Regions from separate parts of the Homo sapiens genome. Here regions 2 and 3 are each linked to region 1. Evidence: promoter capture Hi-C in 16 types of primary human blood cells and fetal thymus (Javierre and others, 2016). All regions are on one chromosome and are shown on one strand. The core of a region is centred on a gene start or on the middle of the fragment in contact, and the rest is flanking DNA. Distances in the headings are between cores, read along the strand shown. Region 1 holds the start of SYT7 (synaptotagmin 7). Region 2 has its middle 24 kb from the start of SCGB1D1. Region 3 holds the start of TMEM132A (transmembrane protein 132A).

Region 1 (4,356 bases), core at 1,274-3,773:
GGGGGACACAGAGCCCTGGCTTGGGGAGCTGAGTCTAGGGAGCCTTGGGGGAGCTGGGGGGAAGGGAAATCTGACCTGGAACTATAGAGCCTACAAAGGTGGGCAGGGATGCCAGAGGGCAGAGGCCAGAATGAGATCTTTGACTCCTCAAGGACCCCAGATGACTAGGCTCAAAGGCAGACTGTGCCCTCTCCAGCCTATGTCTGACCCCACCCAGCCCAATGCCCACACCGGAGAGGAGTCAGCCTCAGGCCAGCCCCTTTCCCAGTCACAGCTGCCCTACCACAGGCACTGGTGGGTCCCGCAGCTGCAACTGGGGTGGGCAAGACAGGTCCCAACTGCAGCCAGAGAGGCCCATTCAAGGAGGGGGTGAGGGAAGAGTTGAGGGCTGCCAGCACACCAGGGATGGTACTGGACTCCAGACCCTTTGCCTAGAAGATGCCAAGCACGTCAAGCTGGCCTCCGTGGTGAGGGCAGAGGTGCTTGGAGGAGTGGTGATGTCATGGTGCCCAGGCATGGGAGGAAAGAGGAGGGAGGGAGAGGGGAGAGGGCACAGCCCCAGGCCAGTGGCCTAACAGGCCAGAGGGGAGGCTGCCAGCCTGGTGGGCGAGGGGATGGATAGTGTCCTTATTTCTTCCCTACCTTCCATCCTCATACCCCAGAGCTGGCTTCTGAACTAAGCTACTGGCTTCTAAGAAGGTGAGCAGAGCAAGAGAATACTCCTGCCACGGGCCATGGGCTGGAAGCCGGCGGCCTCTTCGACGAAGATGCCAGGGTAGGTGACCTAGGTCCAGACAGATGAGGGGAGGGCTCTCCACAGGCAATGCCCCTTCAGCCCTCACCTAGAGGACATTCAGAGAAGGGCGCAAGGTTCCAGAGAAGGAGACTGAATCTCTCACCCTCATATCCAAGTGCTGAGTGAGGGCAGTGCCTGGCGCCCAGTGGGTCGTCCTCAATATCGACTGGACTGAAAAGAATCGATGGGGGGTGGGAGCCGATTCCTCAGGAGGCAGGGACAGGCTGAGGCTGCCCCTAGAGGGGAAAGAGCAAATGTGGGGCTAGGGCAACAGTGGGCAAAGCCAGCACCCACTGGACTGCCTTCAGGAGCCTCAGGGCTGCAGGCTCCTTCTGTGCAGGGTCTTAGAGCCCTTCCTTCCCTACAGCACCGCCGCCCCCAGGAGGCTGGCAGGAGGGAGCCTGGAGGCTCTTCGTTTGGGAGCACATCCTGGGCTGGGGAGTCGTGCTTTTAGCATCAGAGAGAAGCCCAGAAACAGACCCTGATGCCAGAACTGGCAGACTGGGGGTGCTGGGACTGGGTGGAGCACCCCAGGTGGGAGCGGGGATGGAGCCTGGGCAGGAGCTGCAGGGGACCTGCCTACAGGTGGGCACTGGGTGAGGAGGCATCAGGAGCCAAGGAGGAAATGGCAGAGCAATTTCCGAGGAAGACGGGAAGATTCTTCGGCTTTGGCTTAGAGGATACCAAGCAGACAGTGGGCTCCCAGGCCACTCCCCTGGCGGGCGAAGCAGAAGGCAAAGGAGTTCGGCCCTCCCCCACCCCAGGACGGGAGAGAGTTTGGGGTTGTTTGCTTCCCCCTCCCCAAACCTAGGAGAACATTCTCTTGGCACCCCCATTCTCATGAGCCCCTGCTCTCTTTCCCTTCAGGCACCCCCGTCTCACCCATCAACGCCCCTGCAGTTCCCCACCCCCCAGAACCTCCCTGCCCAGCTGCCGCACCAGATTCCCACTTGCCCCCTGGCACCCTCTCAATTCACAGTTGGCACTGCGATGCCACTCCGCTCCCCTGTGCCCGCAACCTTGGCCAAGAGCTGCCGGGATCCTCGCCCTGGGGTCCGCCAGCGCTGGCACCCCCGGGGCACCGGTGCTGGGGAGCCTCGGGTGCCTCTGAGGGCACTGCCCGGCTCCCACAGGGGCAGCGGCTCCTCGCTCCGCCACACACGTTGTCCTTGGGCTGTTGAGGGGTGGGGGAGAGGTCCTTGTGGGGACACTGCGAAGCCGGTCCCAGACATCCAGCCTGGCAGTGTCCAGACTGCGGGGGACCGGGGTCCGAGCCGCTGCCGCTCGATCCCGCGCCCCCGGGGCTGGGATGACCCCTGGGGGAGCCCGTGCGGCTCCGGGCGGACAACAGCCCCAGGCTGGGGCTCCGAGACGGCGTCCGGCGCTGCCGCTGTCCTGCCCGCCGGTGCGGGGCGCCCCAGCCCGCCGGGGCCGCGCTTACCTGGGCTGGCCGCCTCCGGGTCCCGGTACATGGTCCCCTCGTCGCCGGTTCCCTCCGGGCTCCTCAGAGCCGCCCGCGGCCGCGCGCTGCTCCGCCGCCGCCGCTGGGCATGGGGCCGGGCGACCCCCGGGGGCGGGTCCGAGGGCGGGGGCCGAGCGGGCTGCACCTAGCCGCGGAGCCGGGGAGCGGGGGCCGCCCGCCAGCCCTCCCGCCCGCCCGCGGAGCACGCTGCCGCCGCCGCCGAACAGCGCCGAGCCGCCTCCCTCCGGCCTGCGCGCCGCGTGTGCGCGCCGGAGCGTGTGTGTGTGTACGAGGCCGTGTGTATGTGTGTGTGTGAGCGCGTGTGTGAGCGCGCCCGGGGCACCGCCGGCGCCGCCCGCCAGCCGCCGAACGCCGCGGCCACAGCCACCGCCTGCGCCCGCTGCCGGCCGCGCGCCGCACTGCACCCGCGCCCGCCGCCGCCCGAAGCCGCCCCGAGGGCACGGCCGCCGCCCCGCGCCCCGCCCGCCTCGCAGTCCCCGCGGGGAGGGCCGCCGAGCCCCACGGCCGGGCTCGTCCGGCCAGGGGATCCGGCTCCGCTGCGCGACCCACCCCCAGCCCGTGCTCCCCCGATGGCCGCGGCCTGGCACCGGGCAGGGCCGCAGAGCCGGCCACCTCCTCCGAGGTGCCCTTTGGCTCCGATCCAAAAGGCGTGGAGATCCACTCCGGGTTTTCCGCTTGCTGGCGGCTCGAGGGCGTCAGCTCCGGACTCAACACCGCGGCGGTCCGGGGCAGACGGACTGGTGTGTGCAAAAACCAGGAGTGGAATTTTTGGCAGCGCTGAGCCTGGGTCCGCCAGTCCGGTCTTTCTGCAAGCTCGCACACAGGTGGAGCCGAAAGGGCTAAGATCCCTGCCCTCGGTAGGAGGTTTGGCCTAGTGACCCTCCTCACCTAACCCAGCCCCACGAAAGAAGAAAATAGACTTTTCAGCCTCTGGCTATCCCTCTATAGCAGCAGCTCCTCCTCTGATCCTCCCCTCTATTCCTTGACCCTAGCACTTCGGAGGGTAGGAAGGAAATCCCTCCTTCTCCTTCCAACCCTGGACCTCTCTTGGTCCCCTCTGCCTCTCTGCCGGCTCAGCACAGTCTAAATCAGGTGAACACTCATTTCTCTACAGAATTTGGATGATTTGATTCTGGGGCAGGGAGGAGAAGAGACCTGTCTCCTAAGGATAAGAAAAACCCAGAAATGAACCATTAGTGGTATGGTAGGCACAGAGACCTCCCTGCACACACCTACACACGTAATCACCTACATACACACACACACACACACACACAGACATGATGCCCCCCACACACACACCCACACAGACATGCTGCCCACACAAAGAGACACATACACTGACGCTCCCCACAATACAGGTGCTGCCCCTACCCTTCACTGATGGGTCAGGTAAGAGGGCAAAATCCCTGGGTCTGTGGCAGCATCCTGCCCTCCCCTGTGCTGAGAATGCAGTTTGCAGGTGAGCCAGGCTTCCTAGAGTCAAGGATTATTATTTCCACCCTGAGAAATCCACTTTTGCTGGCTTTATACTGCACTACTCATGCCCAGCCACACCTCCACCTGCCCACAGTGTGGAAGGCAGCCAGGAACAACCCTCTATCTCAAGTCTCCCCGACACACACACAAACAGACCCCATCCCCTTGAAATCACATGGAGGCTATCCCCAACAACCACCACACACACACATACACACATACACATTCACCTCCACCTACAGCTTTTCCGGTTGAGAAAAAGATAAGGAAGTTCCCCCAGCAAACCTCCATGAAGACTGTTCCAGTGGAGAGCAGATTTCCTGGGAATGAATGTTCTACATAAAAATGGAAGGAAAAAAGGCATCGTAGGTTAAGGCCACAATTCCTCAGTGGCCAGAAATCTCAGCCCTCACCCTCTGGGGAAGGGCCATCCTATTCCATACACCTCACAGCTGTCTTCCCCCCACTCACCCAAGTACAGCCAAGAACCCAGGAGTTATCTACACTCTGCTTTGGGACCTGGCAAACCCCAGAAAGCTAAGCCAACAGGCTGGGACTGCAAGGTCTGCAACCTTGGCTCATTCCCCCACCCACCCCA
Region 2 (4,258 bases), core at 925-3,424, 580 kb after region 1:
CACATCCCCACTCCTGTCCAGTAATTTTGAATGTTCTCAACCAAAGAGATCTACCCTGCATGCTGGAAGGAGGAAGTAAACTACAGCTTGCAAAGGGGAGTTCTTTTTTGTTTTTGTTTTTTTCCTTTCTGAGACAGAGTTTCACTCTTGTTGCCCAGACTGGAGTGCAATGGTGCAATCTCAGCTCACTGCAACCTCCGCCTCCCGAGTTCAAGTGATTTTCCTGTCTCAGCCTCCCTAGTAGCTGGGATTACAGGCACATACCACCATGCCTGGATAATTTTGTATTTTTAGTAGAGATGGGGTTTCACCATGTTGGCCTGACTGGTCTCGAACTCGCGACCTCAGGTGATCCACCCACCTCGGACTCCCAAAGTGCTGGGATTACAGGTGTGAGCCACCACACCCGGCCAGGGGGGCTTTTAAAGTGCCTTTTAAGTAGTCATTCCTTTGTGGGGGTATTTGCTTTTATTGCAGTTTATTAAGCCTGAAACAGCTGACATGAAGATGGATACTTTGACTCAGGTTTGGTTGCCTGATCCATGAAGCTTTAATCTTACTTGCCCACAGATACACACACACATACCCCTACCTGTATTAATTTGCACTTTAAATATGCCCATTCCTCTGCTATTATGATATAGGAAAGTTGATAGTATCAGATTAATTTCAGGTGAACTATTCTACCTATAAAAGAATAGGAGCTAATAGGAGCTCCTATAAAAGAACAGGAGCTAATAACCCATGAAAGCTATGACGGTTTTTTTTTTTTTTGGATCTCTATTCTTCCTGCCAGCTCTGCCCCTGGCCTGGCAGGATTGGTTGAGTGGGGAATTGGTCCTTGAGAATTGGAGTAAGGGATCTTGAGGAATGTGTTTAGTGTCTTTGAGTTGTGATTTGAGAATAACAGAGGCAGGAGCCCTCTGCAGGGCTCCTGTCCTACTTGCCCCTGGGACACTGTAATAAGACAAGTATGGATTATGCCCAGTGAGGACTCCTATAACTAATTATTTAACTCAGAAAGTGCCCCAGAGGTGCTGGGGGTGCAGCAGAAAGGACTGGAGGGGTGCAGCCACTACTGCGGGAATGGTAGGGAAAGGGGCTAGGGGCTAGGGGCTAGAGGCCTTCTGCCCCAGTTATCTTATGTGGTGTTTTTTGTTTTGTTTTGTTTTGTTTTGTTTTGTTAGTTTGTTTGTTTGTTTTTTGAGAAGGAGTCTCGCTCTGTCACCCAGGCTGGAGTGCAGTGGCATGATCTCGGCTCACTGCAACCTCTGCCTCCTGAGTTCAAGCTATTCTCCTGCCTCAGCCTCCCGAGTAGCTGGGCTTACAGGCATCCGCCACCATGCCTGGCTAATTTTTGTGTTTTCAGTAGAGATGGGGTTTCTCCATGTTTGTCGGCCAGGCTGGTCTCGAACTCCTGACCTCAGGTGATCTACCTACCCTCCGCCTCCCAAAGTGCTGGGATTACAGGCTTGAGTGACTGCACCTGGCCCAAGTTATCTTACAGTGTCATTGTTTGCATGTTTGTGATGGCCCTAGACTTAACAGATAGAGAGCAGGCTCTATGGCTTAGAGAAAGACAGAAAACAGACAGTGATTGATTTAGGGTATGTAGGTAATGTGTAAGCCCAGGGCAGTGATGGTGGCTTCATCTGGTCAGAATTTCATCAAAGACACCTCTCGGGGCTAAAAAAGACCAGACTTTTTTTTTCTTTTTTCTTTTTTTTTGCTACTTGGGCAACACTGGCTTGATCTAGGTGACCTCTACGTTCCCTAGATGGACAACTTGTGTGGCCCCCAAACCTCTCCGTCTTACCCCAGTACCCCTTATTATCCTCAGCTACCATGCCACTCTCTTCAATCCCAGCAACCAGTCCTCACCTACTTCTGTAGGAGACCTCCACAGGGAGGAGCCTTACCATGAAGGTGATTGCAGTGTTTTTAATGAAAGGGGCCAAGAAAATGTGGCAATGAGGTCCTGTTCCTACGAGCTCCACTCTCCGGATTGAGACAGTGACACTTGTGGGAGCAGGACCCACTGAGGCCCAGTCCGAGGGCTCAGGTGGGAGAGCATCCACTGTGGCACTGCCGCGCTCGGGACCAGGGGCTGCTGGCCTTCAACAGTTGTGTCTCACGTTCTACTGAAGCAGATTGAGGAGAGTGACTCGGGCAGAGAATGCAGGGTGTTCTCTGTCTCCCTCCAGTAGACTAAGGCGTGTTAGTCTACATGAGGTCAACATGCAGACTGCAATGCAGGGAATCCTCTCTCATTCCTCGGGTAGGAGGGCAGGGCTGGGAATTACAACAGGGACCTCCCCTAATTGTCCGCCACCTGCCTGGAGTCACTTAGCAAAAAATAAAAATAATAAAAATCTGTGTTTGGCCCTGATGTGGACTCTACAGCTCCTTTTGCCACTCCCTGTGTCAGGGCCAAGGAGATGGGGTTTGTTGTCCAGCTCTGTCTAACCACTTCCCGGGGAATAGTCTGGGAATATGGATGACAACCTTTAATCGCAAAGTGCCTACTGTGTGTGAGGCACTGGGCGAGTTGAGTTGCGTTGGCCATAACCTTCAATCGCATTTGCTGATTGAGGGGTGATATTATCTTCATCTTCATTTTAAGTCTCTGGAAAGTGACACTCAAAGAGTTAAAGCAACCTCAAGCCCAAGGTTGTGTGGAGTGTGCAGTCGGGCAGGAAGCTCCACTGGACTTCGAAGGTGTTGCTCTAAGGCAAGCCTGCTACGACGCATGTCAAGACATCAGAAATGTTAAGAGGCTTCCCTCCATTGCCTCTTGTTGGCCAAAAGCACCCAGACTTTTCTGATGCCAGTGGGGACTTCCCAGTCCTTGCCCTGGCAAAGTAGGGCCCTCTCCCAGACTGCTATTTCCCACCCGGGGTTTCTGGTCCCTGGCCGCAGGACGTGGGATCTGGTATCACTGATGGAGCTGTACAGATGACATGTCCCAGAAGTGCAGGGAATTGAAGTTCATGGGGTGAACTTTGGCCAATGGGAAACAGGAGGCAGGAGGGGTCTGGGCAGGTGAATTCTGCCAGCTTTGTCTCTGATGCTGGACCCCGGCATTGTTTCTCCTTGCCGCCTATGTGGAGAAATCCCACCTGCTGAGCAAACGACTGTGTCTCTTGATGCCTAGGTGTAAAATAACCATCACTTCACATTTTCTTCATATCTGTCCTGTCTCACTTCCCTTTTGTCAGGTTCCTGTGAGGCCAGGGGAGATCTGGTGGGACAGGGAGAACAGCAGGGGTACACAGGGTCCTGGGGTTTGGCAGAGAAAGGGAGTGGCCAAAGGAGCTGTAGAGTACGTGAGGGTCAAACACAGAGTTGTATTATTTTTACTTTTTGCTAAGCACCTCTAGGCAGCTGGGGGACTTTCGGGGCTCTGTAACTTTGGATATTGGGAACTTTACTGGTCAGGCCCTAATGACCAGATTCTCATACCTGAGCTGCACATTGATAAGGCACAGTGAAGTGGATATCCCGCCCTTTGGGCCTCCAGGCCAGTTCCTCTTGGGAACTGCCCAGGACTCTCGTTCTGCCCAGGACTGAGCCCTGACTCAGGATGTCACTGTTAGAGAGAAGGGCAGAGAGGGGCTCACTACCGTTGACTGTTGCTGTTTTCTGCTTAGCTGGCTGGATATCCACCTCCTCTTTGAACTTCTTCAGACCCTCAAAATCAGCACCCTTGAAATCAGGGTCCTTGAAATCAGGAGTCTCAACACTGGGAGAGGACCCAAAAGGACCAGTAGCAGCTGGGAAGTCAGCTCTGGAGCCCTCAAAGAAGCTTTGCTTGACTCAACTACCTTTTTGCACATGGAGGTGGGAAGAAAAGAGTTAGGCACATTTATCATGATGGGGGAATGGCCATTGTGCCTTGTCCAGGGAACAATGCACACAGAGCATGAGCCCACCTGTGCAGCAAGATGCTGATATCCAGGTATCTGTGTCTGGATGGATGGGAAAAGACTTGACCCCATGAGCCCAGCAAGTTAACACTGGTTGTATATGGGTGACTTCTATGGGCTTTTCTTTATTTCCCCAAATTTATTTTATTTATTTATTTAGAGACAGGGTTTCACTTCAGTTGCCCAGGCGGGAATGCAGGGGCATGATCACGGCTCGTTGTGGCCTCAACCTCCCAGGCTCAAGCAATCTTCCTGCCTCATTTTTTTGATTTTTTGTAGAGATGAGGTCTCACTATGTCACTGAGGCTGGTCTCCAACCCCTGGGCTCAAGT
Region 3 (4,135 bases), core at 265-2,764, 660 kb before region 1:
AGGCATGTGCCTGCAAGTGGGACCTTGCTGGGCATTATATGCCCTGTGGGGGTTTCAGAGACCCTGAAAGAGGAGGGAGGACCCGCCTCCTTGTCTGCACAACTGCATGCACTTCTCTCCCCATCGCTCCACAACCTGAAACCGAGAAGGAGTTGCTGACCAGTGCCCACCCCGGCAGCCCGGGAGGAACACAGGCAGCTCCTTTCCCTTCACGTGGTCTGCAGAGAGCAGGGTGAGCTGCCAGCTGCCCCTCTCCACCAGGGTACCCTGTCTTGGTGGTTAGGGGCCACTTTTCCTTTGAGGCTCTAGTGGAGGTGGATGTCCTTCTCTGCCAGGCTTGGCACATGATGTGAAGAATAAATGCCCAATTCTTACTGTTCAGGTTTGATGTGGAATCACAGCTGCAGTGATATATATTTTTTATCAGTGCTTGGTTGGTTTTAAATAAAGTGCACGCTATTTTATTATCTTGTTCTGAATAAAATGTATTTACTCCAAGTCTGGATTGCTTCCATGTCTCCTCTACTGCTAAACCCATTTCTGTAGTGCAGCTCCGCCTCCCAATTTCTCCCTGTGGGGGCAGTGTGAAGCTGGCAGAGGGGAGAGCTGAAAAGGCAGGCTGGTACCAGGTACCCTTCCCTCCAGGAGCACAAGGAATTAGGAAAGCATGCCCCCATTACAAAACGTAGGAACGACTGGCACTGCTGGAAATGCGTGTGCTTGCTGGGCAGAGGGGTCACCCCTTCCCTGCAGTGTGCTGAGGTGGGTGGGCAGCCTGGAGAAGACTTGCCTGCCCTCCCCTTCACCACCCACCTGAGGACTTTCCTGTGCCAAGGTTTCCAGTCGGCCCACAGGCTGGACCAATTTTGCGGAGGGCCTCAGACATAATTTTTTCTTTGTAAGCTGCCCAGGGCATGAGAGTGTGCAGCTGGGGCCCCTGCTCTGGGCCTCTCCCCAAACTGCCTGGTAGGCAACACTGGGTCAGGACCCTTGAGGCTGGCCTTCCCTCGGGAGTGTTGGGCAACCCTCAACCCTCCTAAGCGCTGCAGGACGCTGCCCAGGTGGAGCTGGTCAAGAGACTAGAGCTGCCTGCACCTAGAGCCCTTCCTCCACGGCGGTGGCCTAGCTCTGTCAGGGCAGGCTCAGGTGGTTGGCATCTGGCCCCGTTTGACCCCCTCCCTCCTTTCCTGTCCCTGCAGCTCCCGTCCCATGTGTCCCTGAATTCTGGTTCTGACTCAGGTGTCAGATGCCTTCACAAGTGAGCTGCTTGTGGGGGTGGGTGAGGCAGAGAAAGTGGCTTTTTCTTCCCTGATCAGAAGCTTCCGTGAGGGAGCCACACAGAACTCACCGAGTCCCTCCTGGCAGAGGCGGCCGTCCTCTGTTGCTTCCAGGGACGTGGCCCTCTTCCCGACCTCGGTCGCCTGAGCGCGCAGGGATTGGGGATCCGTAGGGCACTAGGACCCGGCGGGGCGGAGGGGGCAGCCCATGTGCTGCGATTCGCTCCCTCCCACCCCACTGCTCCCGCTCCATTGTCTGGGAATTGCAGCCGCGGGGCGGGCGGCGGCGGCGGCGGCGGCGGCCGGGACCCAGCGGGCCAGGTGGGGACGGCGCGGAGCGGGTGCGGGAGATGCCGTGCGGGACTGGGGCCACCTGAGCCGCCCGCCTCGTCCCCGCCTTCTGTGGGAAGGATGTGCGCGCGGATGGCCGGTCGCACAACAGCGGCCCCTCGGGGGCCCTACGGCCCCTGGCTCTGCCTCCTGGTGGCCCTCGCCCTGGACGTCGTGAGAGGTCAGCGGGAGGGGAGGGCCGGGGCGAGGGGCGGCCGGGCCCGGCCGAGTGGGAGCGAGTGATGCCCGGGAGCCACCAACCTTTGGGTTCTCGGACTGAACCCTGAGCGGGGTCGCCCCGCAGCGCCCTGAAGGTCGGAGAGTTCTTGCCCTCGGGAACCTGCCCCCAGCCACTCGCCCCTAAGGCTTCCTTCACCTTGCACGACCCGGCAACTCCTTCCTGACCCGGGGCAGCCCGGCGCAGGGGCTTCCCCGTCCCGCACCTTCTGCGAGGGACCCCTCAGCCCGGGCATCGAACCCGGCGGCCCCGGTCCCGGGCGCACTAGCGTCATCCCCACTCCCTCACTGTGGTCTGTAGCGCTGCACCCTCCTAGCCTCCTTCCGCCGCCACCAACCCACCCCCCTCGGGAGTGGAAAGCAGCCCCTTTGCCTGGGACCTGCAACAGACGCAAGCCCTCCCTCCCCCTTCCCCCAGGGCTCCCTGACCTTGGCGTCTCCAGGGATGGCCGCATCCTTGCCTTCCAGAACCTTTGAGAGGATTCCTGTCACTGCGGGAAAGGGCAGCAACTTCCCTGTGCTTCGGGGTGGGGGTCGGACTCCCTTGGCCTGGGCTAGCTGGGCTGTGGCTGCAAGGCAAAGGATGCCACAGAAGACAGAGGGACAGTGAAACATTCTCTGCCCTCCCCACCGAGAGAGCCGAGCGCTGGGTGATGGGAGTCCGTGGGAGTCAGGCTAAGAGCATCTTGTAATTATGGAGGCAATGGAGTAGGAGGCGAACCTGAAGCCAGTGGCTGCCCCCAGAGAGCAGTGGTCACTTGTTACGCTTGGGGCAGGGGGCAGGGAGAGCCTGTCAGTCATATGCTCCTTGGTGGGGAGGGCCAGGAAGGAGGTTGAAACCAATTCCCCCACCCCCACCCACAGTCCAGCTGTGGGGCTGAGAGGGAGCTAGCTGTGGGGTTGCTTTCAGCCACCTGCTCCCCATCCCGAGGGACGCCATGGGAGTCCTAATAGAGAGAGGAGGAAAACCTTGTCAAATCCATTATGCAGCAGCAATAATGCCTGCTCCCTCCAGACAGCACTCCACAGTTTACACAGCCCTGTCCTGTCCACAGTGCCACCTAATGCTCCTGCCCCTTTTACAAGTGAGGAAACAGGCTTCAAAATGTTAATGCCTGACCCAAGTTTCATCAATTTAAATTCAGGTCTCCAGGCTCCCAGGAAATCCTCTCTAGGGAGCGCTTCCTAGTTTGGGGGAATTCCAGGATGAGCAAGACAGGGTCCCTTGTTTATAGGAAGATTACTAATTCAGAGGAGGCACCCAGGGTTGCAAAAGACAGGAGACTGGTGGGAAGGTGAGTAACCAAGGAGGGCTTCCTTCAGAAGGAGGCAGTATTCACTCATGGCCCTGAATGAGGAGGGAGGTGCCACCGGGCAGAGCAGAGGAGAGGAGGTGCGCTCCAGGGCATGAAGCCTGCAGGGTGCACCGTGGCAGTGGAGAGTGGAGAGAGAAGTGGCAGGTGGAGACGCCGGATGGTCTAGTGGCTAATACCTGGGATCAACCCCCAGCTCCTTCACTCTCCAGCTGTGGAACCACAGGCAAATACCTTAACCTCTCGGCCTCATTTTCTACATCCACAAAATGGGATTCATCATAATAGAACCTGGTTCACAGAATTATTACAAAGACTCAAAGAGTTCATATACATACAGTATTTAAATTCTCACCTGCATATAGCATTCACAAAATGCTAATTATTATTATTAGTGCTCATAGTTAGAGCAAACCAATATGGCTTAGTGCTCCTTTGTCCTTCTGATGATTGACTATTTTGACTGTCTTCCCCAGGCTCCTGGTCCCCACCCCACCCCCAGGGCAAGCAAGTGCCTTCACAGACCTCTTCAGCACCTTCCGCGCCCGCCCATCCCACACTTGCACTCGATACCAGTCGGTTCAGGGAAGAAGGGAGCAAGCTTGGAAAGATGGTGCAGGTTGCCATGGCAATGATGGGGGAGGAGGGGTGGATGCCCAGCAGAGCCTGGCCAAGGATTCAGGGCAGAGAAAGCTCACTTCATTACCATATTTTACTACACTGGCCCAGTCTGCCGACGGTTGCACCCCAGAAGTGCCTTGGTATCAGAGGCGAGTAGATGGAGGGCAGGAGTTGGGGAAAAGGAGACATTGAGAAGGCTGTTGGCGAGAAGAAGGCCAAGGTCTGTGGAAAGTAGAAGGAATAGCTGGGAAGCATCCAGTCCTGGACTCAGATTCGAATCCTGGCTTTGCTACATACTACCTGTGTGAGGCTCTTTAAGCCTCAGTGACCTCATCTGTGAAATGGTGGTGAGAGGGG

What was found. The method cuts DNA at HindIII sites, captures the fragments that hold promoters and counts their contacts. A CHiCAGO score of 5 or more calls a contact.
Region 2: a fragment that was not itself captured here is called in contact with the fragment with the promoter of SYT7 in region 1 in 1 of 17 cell types (erythroblasts); the score reaches 5.6 in erythroblasts.
Region 3: the fragment with the promoter of TMEM132A here is called in contact with the fragment with the promoter of SYT7 in region 1 in 2 of 17 cell types (erythroblasts and activated CD4 T cells); the score reaches 6.3 in erythroblasts.

Annotation. Positions count from the first base shown.
Region 1 is chr11:61,578,553-61,582,908 of GRCh38, forward strand. SYT7 (synaptotagmin 7) reads right to left here and starts at 2,524. Exons shown (of 13, transcript NM_001365809.2): 1 at 2,238-2,524. The coding sequence starts at 2,268. It overlaps LOC105369331 (a long non-coding RNA gene), which reads right to left. Exons shown (of 5, transcript XR_950166.3): 4 at 4,044-4,093; 5 at 2,854-3,441. RefSeq lists silencers at 2,545-2,634, 2,655-2,804, 2,815-2,974. The HindIII fragment of the contact is 6,758 bases long and covers 1-4,356 here.
Region 2 is chr11:62,163,827-62,168,084 of GRCh38, forward strand. No RefSeq gene overlaps it. Among named protein-coding and RNA genes, the nearest start is that of SCGB1D1, 24 kb to the right of the region's middle. The HindIII fragment of the contact is 3,257 bases long and covers 547-3,803 here.
Region 3 is chr11:60,922,946-60,927,080 of GRCh38, forward strand. TMEM132A (transmembrane protein 132A) reads left to right here and starts at 1,515. Exons shown (of 11, transcript NM_178031.3): 1 at 1,515-1,788. The coding sequence starts at 1,689. TMEM109 (transmembrane protein 109) reads left to right here. Exons shown (of 4, transcript NM_024092.3): 4 at 1-498. It overlaps LOC124902676 (a long non-coding RNA gene), which reads right to left and starts at 2,452. Exons shown (of 2, transcript XR_007062688.1): 1 at 2,274-2,452. RefSeq lists silencers at 1,411-1,770, 1,831-2,050, 2,091-2,160. The HindIII fragment of the contact is 2,439 bases long and covers 1,318-3,756 here.